3 separate regions of the Homo sapiens genome follow, and all the other regions are linked to region 3. The links are contacts of gene promoters, found by promoter capture Hi-C in blood cells and fetal thymus (Javierre and others, 2016). All regions are on one chromosome and are shown on one strand. The core of a region is centred on a gene start or on the middle of the fragment in contact, and the rest is flanking DNA. Distances in the headings are between cores, read along the strand shown.

Evidence for each region. Contacts are between HindIII fragments. The CHiCAGO score rates a contact against its expected background, and 5 or more counts as called.
Region 1: a contact is called between a fragment that was not itself captured here and the fragment with the promoter of TSHR in region 3, in 1 of 17 cell types (endothelial precursors). The highest score is 7.8, in endothelial precursors.
Region 2: a fragment that was not itself captured here is called in contact with the fragment with the promoter of TSHR in region 3 in 2 of 17 cell types (endothelial precursors and M1 macrophages); the score reaches 18.8 in endothelial precursors.

The regions. Positions count from the first base shown.
Region 1 is chr14:78,912,939-78,915,638 of GRCh38, forward strand. The region is part of intron 10 of NRXN3 (neurexin 3); the gene reads left to right. Among named protein-coding and RNA genes, the nearest start is that of NRXN3-AS1, 160 kb to the right of the region's middle. The HindIII fragment of the contact is 4,100 bases long and covers 1-2,700 here.
Region 2 is chr14:78,939,339-78,942,159 of GRCh38, forward strand. All of the region lies in intron 10 of NRXN3 (neurexin 3), which reads left to right. Among named protein-coding and RNA genes, the nearest start is that of NRXN3-AS1, 130 kb to the right of the region's middle. The HindIII fragment of the contact is 1,012 bases long and covers 933-1,944 here.
Region 3 is chr14:80,954,316-80,957,015 of GRCh38, forward strand. It overlaps TSHR (thyroid stimulating hormone receptor), which reads left to right and starts at 1,306. Exons shown (of 10, transcript NM_000369.5): 1 at 1,306-1,535. The coding sequence starts at 1,366. It also overlaps a transcript of CEP128 not described here. The HindIII fragment of the contact is 2,816 bases long and covers 109-2,700 here.

The DNA.
Region 1 (2,700 bases), core at 186-2,685, 2.0 Mb before region 3:
TTCCTTGTTCCTTCGTTTATTCCTTCAACAAATATTTATTCAGCCCCTACTATGCCCTAGATACCTAAGCTATAGCAGTGAAAAAGACAGGTATGATCTCTCCTTCAATAGAGTATACATTTTAAGAGGCAAGGCAAACACTAAACAAGATACTAATTATACAGTTACAATCTTGATAAGATCTACTAAAGACAAGTACAGGTCGGAAAGTAAGCACAAAAATGAGAAACTCAATTCCATTTTTACAGCTTCCTTACATTATAGATGATGTTACCTCTAAGATTTTTTTCTTTTTTCTTTTCCTTTCTTTTCTTTCTTTCTTTCTTTCTTTCTTTCTTTTTTTTTTTTTTTTTTTTTTTTGAGACAGAGTCTTGCTGTGTTGCTAGGCTGGAGTGTAGTGGCGCAATCTCAGTCCACTGCAACCTCCACCTCCCGGGTTTAAGCGATTCTCCTGCCTCAGCCTCCTGAGTAGCTGAGACTACAGGTGTGCACCACCATGCCCAGCTAATTTTTGTATTTTTAGTAGAGATGGGGTTTCACCACGTTGGCCAGGATGGTCTCGATCTCTTGACTTTGTGATCTGCCTGCCTCGGCCTCCCAAAGTGCTGGGATTATAGATGTGAGCCACCGCGGCCGGCCACCTCTAAGATATTAACAGCCTTCTAATCACTAAATCCAATGTCCTCTTCTAATCTTTAGAAATGTTCATATTCGTTGGCATGGGAATATAACCATGAGGTTTAAAGTTTCTGCTTGTGCCTTTGTTTGTAGCAGATAAAATCTTTTGTTTAAAAGAAATAAAGCCTACTTGAAGTCCATAAAGAGAAAACAGATGAAATCTGGACTGCTTTGTTTGGAGATGCCTCATGGGAAGGTGGGAGCTCTGGCTTTCCCCACACTTGGTAATCTCAGGATCGTCTTTTCTTGATCCCCATGGTGCTAGTTTGGAAGCCACTATTCTAGAATTCTCATTATTATCAGCTATTTATGTATTGGCTCCCTGGCAGCCCTAAAGACTCTGCCTGGACTGACACATCCCAGTCCTATTCCCAGTTCTGTGCCGGAGTCTCTGAACACTTCTTGAACTGATCTGAGCCAAGAAAGAAACTTGGACATCTTTGGATTTGTGAAATCCAAACTGGACCCTCTTCATTTGCTGTGATTTCCCACCCATGATTACAGTTCACACTCTACTTACTACCAGGTCTCCAACCAACACCTCATTTATTAGTCCATCTCCTGTGTGTGCATGGATTGGTGAGGGAAATTAGAAGGAAAGGAAGATGATTGCATCCATCAATTGAATCAATGTATTCTGGGCTCCAAATATGTGCTAAGCATTGTCCAAGGAAGCTGAGGGTATAACTATGAACAAAAGAAACAAAAATACCTGCACTCTTGGAACATACATTCTAATGGAGGATATAGACAGTAAATACATCAGAAATTAAAATTGTATAACAGGTGGTGATAAGTTCGTTGGGGAGAAAATAACCAAAGAAAAAGGATAGGGTATGTCAGGGTGAGGAGGACCAAGGTTTACTACTTTAACGAATGATGTAAAAGATTGCCTGAGTGAGAAGGTGGCATTTGAGGAAAGATGGGTAGGAATGAGTGATACAGGTGTCTGCAGGAAAAGCATTGCAAACAGAGGAAGCAGAAAGTATAATGGAGCTTAGTTAGGAGCCTGGTATGTTTGAGAAACAACAAAGAGGTCGTGTGGCTAAAGCAAAGTAAGAGATGAGACTAGAAAAGTGGCAGAGGAGCAGATCCTGAATTGTCCTGTAGGCCATTTTGAGGACTTTGGGTTCTACTCTCAGGAATAACTGGGAAGAAGAGTGACACGATCTGTCTTCAGTTTTGAAAAGATCACCCTGGCTACTGTGTGGAAAATGGAATGAAGGGGGCAACGGGAGGTGCAGGAACATCATTTGGGAGTGGTTGACACAAAACAAGCAAGCAATAAGGGGAAGGAGGGGGGATAATTTGTTCAAGTAAGCCTCTTTCTCTGTTCCATTTGATTGGAACAAATGGTACAACTTAGCAGAATGTCCAGTAATAGAGGAGAAAGCAAATAAAAATTCAAAGATATTGAGATAGTACCTGAGTGGTAATTTAATTAATGGAAAAGGAAATCTCAGAAAGAGATGTTTTTGCCTAAGGGCTAGTTGTGAAAGATGACCCTGAGGCTCAATAAATTGCCTTCCATTGTCAGTGGTATGTGCGTGTGTAGATAATTAAAGAGGTGAGAATAAAAATAGAGGGAAAAGTCAAGGATTGAGTTTTCAATTTTAGAGTTTCTATATATGGAGTACTGTGTGGTTTATAAAACACTGGTATTTAATATATTTTATTACTATATAAATGAATGAACTACGTTTCCCAAACATCTTTCTACGTGTGAAGCAAAAAAAAAAAAAAAAAAAAAAAAAAACCACACAGAAAAAAAACAAGCAAGCAAACAAAAACAGAGGGAACAAGAGTTTAGAGAAGTCAAAGAAATAGTATTCAATTTTCTGTTTAGTACCATTTATTCAGTGTTCAGTGTCAATGAGGTTATGAGAAATATTCTAGATACTGGAGATACAAATATAAATGAAACACAGTTCTTGCCCTTAAGAAGCCCACAGTCAAATGGAAAATATATAGAAATAAATAGCACTGTAATGTGATAGGCAGACAGGATTGCTTAATTCTCAC
Region 2 (2,821 bases), core at 189-2,688, 2.0 Mb before region 3:
AAGGGGAAAGTGATTGGTTCAATAAACACAGGAGAGTGTGCAAGTGGGATAGAAAGACTACCATATCTCAATCCTTGGTTACACAATGTTCATCTACCTTGGTTCCCTCTCTGCCATATTAGTCTTCCCTGCTGATGAAGTAGTTACAAGAACCAGAGTTGAGATTAAGAAAGGGATACAACAGCTGGGAAACACTGGTCCTGTTACACCATTGCCCTCCTGGGGAGACACAAGGGCAAGTATATCTGGCCATAGCTATCACTTGCCAATTAGCCTGGTGACTAGATATATGTTTTATCTCTATGTATCAACCAGAGCAAATGTGGGGCCAGAATGGGACCAAAATGGATGTCACCAATGGGTTGACCAGTTTAGGGATGAAGGAGTCAACAGAGATTGTCTGAGCTTCATAAATATTTAAGGTTTACTCTGTACTTTCATCCCTTTCTATGGGGAAGTAACTCTCTTATTTCATCCTTTTTATCTTTGTTCAGCACACACGTGCTCTTTTTATTTTCTCTATGTCTCACAGCTCTCAGAGATTATCAATTTGCTCCCTACGCTTTAATCCATTCTATAAGTTCCATCCAACTTTTTGTTGCTTGCTATGACAAAATCGAATAATCTTAAATAATGCAGCAAACACACGTTGCAGCCTGTTTAAGATATTTTAAGAGTTCTTTTTGATCTAGGAGATAAAACACAAAGTTTTCAGTACAGCAGGTTCTTGTAAGCAGGTTCTTAAAATCTCCTCCTGGCTACATCTTTAGACTCATTTCCTACCTCTCATAAAAATGCCCTCCACTACCCTACGACACGGAAGTACTCGACATTTGCTGAACTTGCATGCTCTCTTAATCTCTATACGTGGCAGTTTTTAAAATCTCTTGTCTACCTGGAGCACTAGTTCTGCACATTCATTAAAAAGCATAAGCTTTGCTTTCTCTAACAAGTATTACTTGAACACCACTATCTTCTTAACCCCAAACTCAGACCCAAATGTGCATGTATATATGCACACACACACTCCCAATAGCTTCTCTCTTTCCCTGTGTTCCTTAGGTATAATGCAAAGAACTCATAGTAGTATTAAAGCACTTAAAACATTGTATTACATTTTTATATCACTCTCTACTCCATTAGACTGTAAGTAACTTTGATCCAGGGATCAAAATATATTTCTCCTTTTATCTCCAGCCACTAGTCAATGTCCAGTGTGTTATAAATAAGCAGTAAATATTTGATGAGTTGTTGAGTTAATGAGTAATAACAAATAAATGTTATTGTACAACAAGTTGGCAGATATTTGTTCCTTGAATAGAATGATTTTTATAATTGTCATTTACAAATTCAGTTTAGATGGGATATTTTTCTCTTATTTCTTCCCTTGAACGTTTTCCCCCAACTACCGTGTACTCCCATTACTAGATTTTTTTATAAATCACTTAAATATGTTTTTGTAAATTATTAATAGCAGCAAGTAGTGCTGATCTGTTGGGCACCTAATGTGTATCAAGCTGTGAATTAGAACTTGTCTTCCACTGGTCCCAAGAGAGCTGGATCAGTTCACAACCCTGCATAAATGGTAGCTAGGATTATGATTCAGTAGGAGCATATGTAGCCTCAAGCAGGATAATTAGTTGTAATAAGCACATAACCACATTTTCTCCCTGTTTCTGTGTTAGGGGATGGCAGTCAATTCACACTTTGAATTTCAATGTCCATAAGCTGCATTTAAATACATTCATATAAATGCATGTCAAGTAACTACCATGTCTAGGCCTTGGACTAGATTCTGAAAAAAATAGGCACAATCACTGGCCTCGTGGAGTTCATAGCCAGCATCACCTTAAAATCAATGAGAAGTAGAAAGTCAGGTTATTGAGACCAGGATGATCTACGCTGCATCTAACTGGGGGATATTAAGTTCTCACAGACATTACAAGCTTATCCCAGTCAATATAAGCTCACTGTATAATCAACTACCTCCATATACAAATGTCCCCTCCTCCAGTGGCATGATCTAGGGCTGGCAGGGATTCACCTTTCCTTACCCGTGGTGCTTCTCAAAATTCCCCTGCTGCCTCACCCAGCCACCCCCATTCTCACCCAGTCTAAGTATCAGTTCCAAGAAGCATTTCTAGTTCCTCTACCCCTTTGTTTTCCGCAAACCTTCACATCTGCTCCCTCAGAAGCACCATTGGTTATGGAGGTCTGATCTGAAGTTCTACCCATCACTCACACATTCATCATCCATCCAGAAGGCAGTTTTATATAAACCCAGATAAGCTTGGCTTTGCATCTACTTAGTAGCTATTTACCCTTGGCTGAGATAACTTAACATCCCTGTTTCTTACTGCTGTCATCTGTAAAATGGGATAAAAATGCTTACTTCCCAGTATTCTGGGGATTAAATATTAAGCTCCAGTACAAAGTGTAACAATGACTTTATGCGTCATTATCCCCGCTGGTCTCCCATAGCTGTTCTCTAGCACCCCTGTGCCATCTTTGGGATTGTCGAGTTAGCCCTGAAGTGGCAAGGACCCTATTTCAGTGCTCATATTTAAAAAGCACCACCATCAGCAAAAGGGGTGTAGAGAGGAGGCACCATTTAGAATCTTGGAAAATCTGAAAAAACTTGCTTCTAGGCCAGAGAGTAGAGAGAACTGTGAGATTGTGTGCTAGCCACAGTAGACCAATGTTGGATTGGAGATGATAGGTCGTCTTAATGGAAAGTGTGATGGGGAGCCAATGTGGCACAGTAGCTCAGAGTGTGGGCTCTGGAGCCAACATAAGAAGAGTTACCCTAACAGAATATAGA
Region 3 (2,700 bases), core at 56-2,555:
AGTTCATTCATTTTTATTGCAGAATAGTATTCCAATGTGGAGGTATCAGAGTTTGTTTATCCATTATCTAGTCGCGAGACACTTGGTTCGTTTAGTGGTTATGAATAAAGCTTCTGTAAAATTTGGAATACACATATTTTAAATGTACGGTTTAATGAATTTTGATAAATGTATACATCCACTTAACCTCCAGCCTAATTACGATATGGAAACCCTGTGTGTTCCCTCCTGTCTTTTTCTAGTCAATCTTTCCTAACCTTTATTCTGATTCCCATAACCACAACTTTTTCCTTCCTGTCCTAGCCAAGTTCATATAAAAGGAATTATGCAGTATAGAAGGAATTGACATTCCTTTTATCCCAAGAGGAATAAGTGATTGAAGACTTTTAAGAAGGAAATAGGCACAATCTGATTTATGTTTGTAATGATCTTTTTGGCTACTGTGCGAAGAATGGTGAGTATGCCACTTAAGTATTATTTTTCTTCCCATCTTCCAGGGGGAATATGACTCAATGAAATTCTTGGGTCGACCAGAATTTCCATACTGGACCCATTATTAAGGGAACCTGGAATTATTTCTGCCATTCCCGATTCTTCCCAGCAGATGGCCCCAAAGTTCAGTTCCTGAATTGCCTCGCGGAGCCGCGGGCTGCAACGTGAGGCGGCCGCTGCCAGTCGACTCAACCACCGGAGTGGCCCCTGCAGTTGGATAGCAACGAGAATCCTCCAGGGGTGCAGGGCGACGGCTTCGGCCGCACCGCGGGCTAGCCAGGGCTGCGTGCCCGCCTCTGACCCTCAGCAGAGGTGTCTCTGGCCAGGAGGAGCTGAAGTTCTGCAGGACATTGGTCCGCCCGCGGACAGTCCACTCCGCGGGGACTTTCTCTGGATAAGGAGTGCGTGCGAGTGGCTCCCAGGCAGACAGGGTGTCTAGAAGGCTACACGCTAGGGAAGGTGGCTCCTTGGATTTAAAGAGGAGGAAAGGAGGGGGCATCTAAACTAGGCTTTGGAGAGAACTAATGGGAGGGGCGCCCGGGGTGGGGGGGCGGGCTGGAAAACAGAGGGGACAGCCAGGACTGGTGTTGGGTGTCAGGGAACAGACGGAGCGGACTGCGTGGGTCCAGCCAAGGAAAGTGAAGCAAGCAGACTTGTTTGGGTCAAGGTTGCCTAGGGAAGCGGAGCACTTAAGTGCCTCTTTTTCCCCTTCTCCAGCCTCCTCCACAGTGGTGAGGTCACAGCCCCTTGGAGCCCTCCCTCTTCCCACCCCTCCCGCTCCCGGGTCTCCTTTGGCCTGGGGTAACCCGAGGTGCAGAGCTGAGAATGAGGCGATTTCGGAGGATGGAGAAATAGCCCCGAGTCCCGTGGAAAATGAGGCCGGCGGACTTGCTGCAGCTGGTGCTGCTGCTCGACCTGCCCAGGGACCTGGGCGGAATGGGGTGTTCGTCTCCACCCTGCGAGTGCCATCAGGAGGAGGACTTCAGAGTCACCTGCAAGGATATTCAACGCATCCCCAGCTTACCGCCCAGTACGCAGACTCTGTGAGTACCCGGGAGAGATCAGGGTAGGACCCAGAGATCAAGGGCATCTGCAGAGGTGGCCCGAAGTGCACAAAAGCAGCTCAATAACAGCCCGAAGTAGTGTGTGAGTGTGTGTATGTGTGAGTGAATGTCTGTGTGTGTAGATGTGTGTGTGTGCTAAAAACTTAATCGCCCACACTTGGGAAGGTATCATTGTTGACATCCTCATTCCCAACACAGGAAAATGTTACAAAACTTTGGTGTACAATGACCGTGAGAGCTGTTCTTTCCAACAAGCTGCTATTCAGCACTTTGCCTAACCCTGGTTGAATCTGTTTTATTTGAATTAATAAGGATAATGGCATCTCAGGAACTGACCTTTTTGATCTTACCTTGGGTAATAAAAAATTGCAAAAATATGTATTTCTCCTTTTTGTTTCTCTAGATGGGAGGTTATCTTAGCAGTTCTGCTGATTCATCAAATTGTTGACAAAGGTTTAAGCAGGGGCCCTTTTTAAAATGAACTGTCTATACAGTATCTGTAAGTTACTTACTCAAATGTGAACTGCCAGTGAAATAGTACGTCCAGAACCCTGCTTTGTGATAGAGGTATAAAGAAATGAAATTTCATAAAAGTATAGTACATTTATCTGCATGTTAAATGTTACCAGATTAGAAACCTGATGTTAAATAAGATTATACACACACAACCTGTTTCTTAACAGCAATTTAAATCAGTGATCATTGAAATTGTAGACAAAACCAAGGGAATAAAGTCTGTCTTGATTAGTTAAAAAGAGAACAGAAAGAAAGGACAGTAAAACAACCTAGGCTGGTTAAATCCAGTTAAGATAAAAAAAAATGCAGGTTATTAAAGAAAATGTTGATAGATGAAAAGAAATGGGAAAGTTGCACCTCTAGATTTTCTCAAGAATTTAGCTCATGAAGACTATTTAACAGTAGATGAATATTTGAGCACAGAGATATATTTCTGTGCTCAGAGATATCCTAGTGTCTTAGCACACCTGAATTAATTAGTTCAATAACCTCCAAACAGTGTGGTAGTCATTCTCCATGCTGCCACCACAGAATAAGATGTGTAAAAGGTGTAATGGCCTCTTGATTACACCTCTACATAGGTTGCTTGTCACCTCTAGAATAAAATTCTTTTGTGCAGCCTACCAGA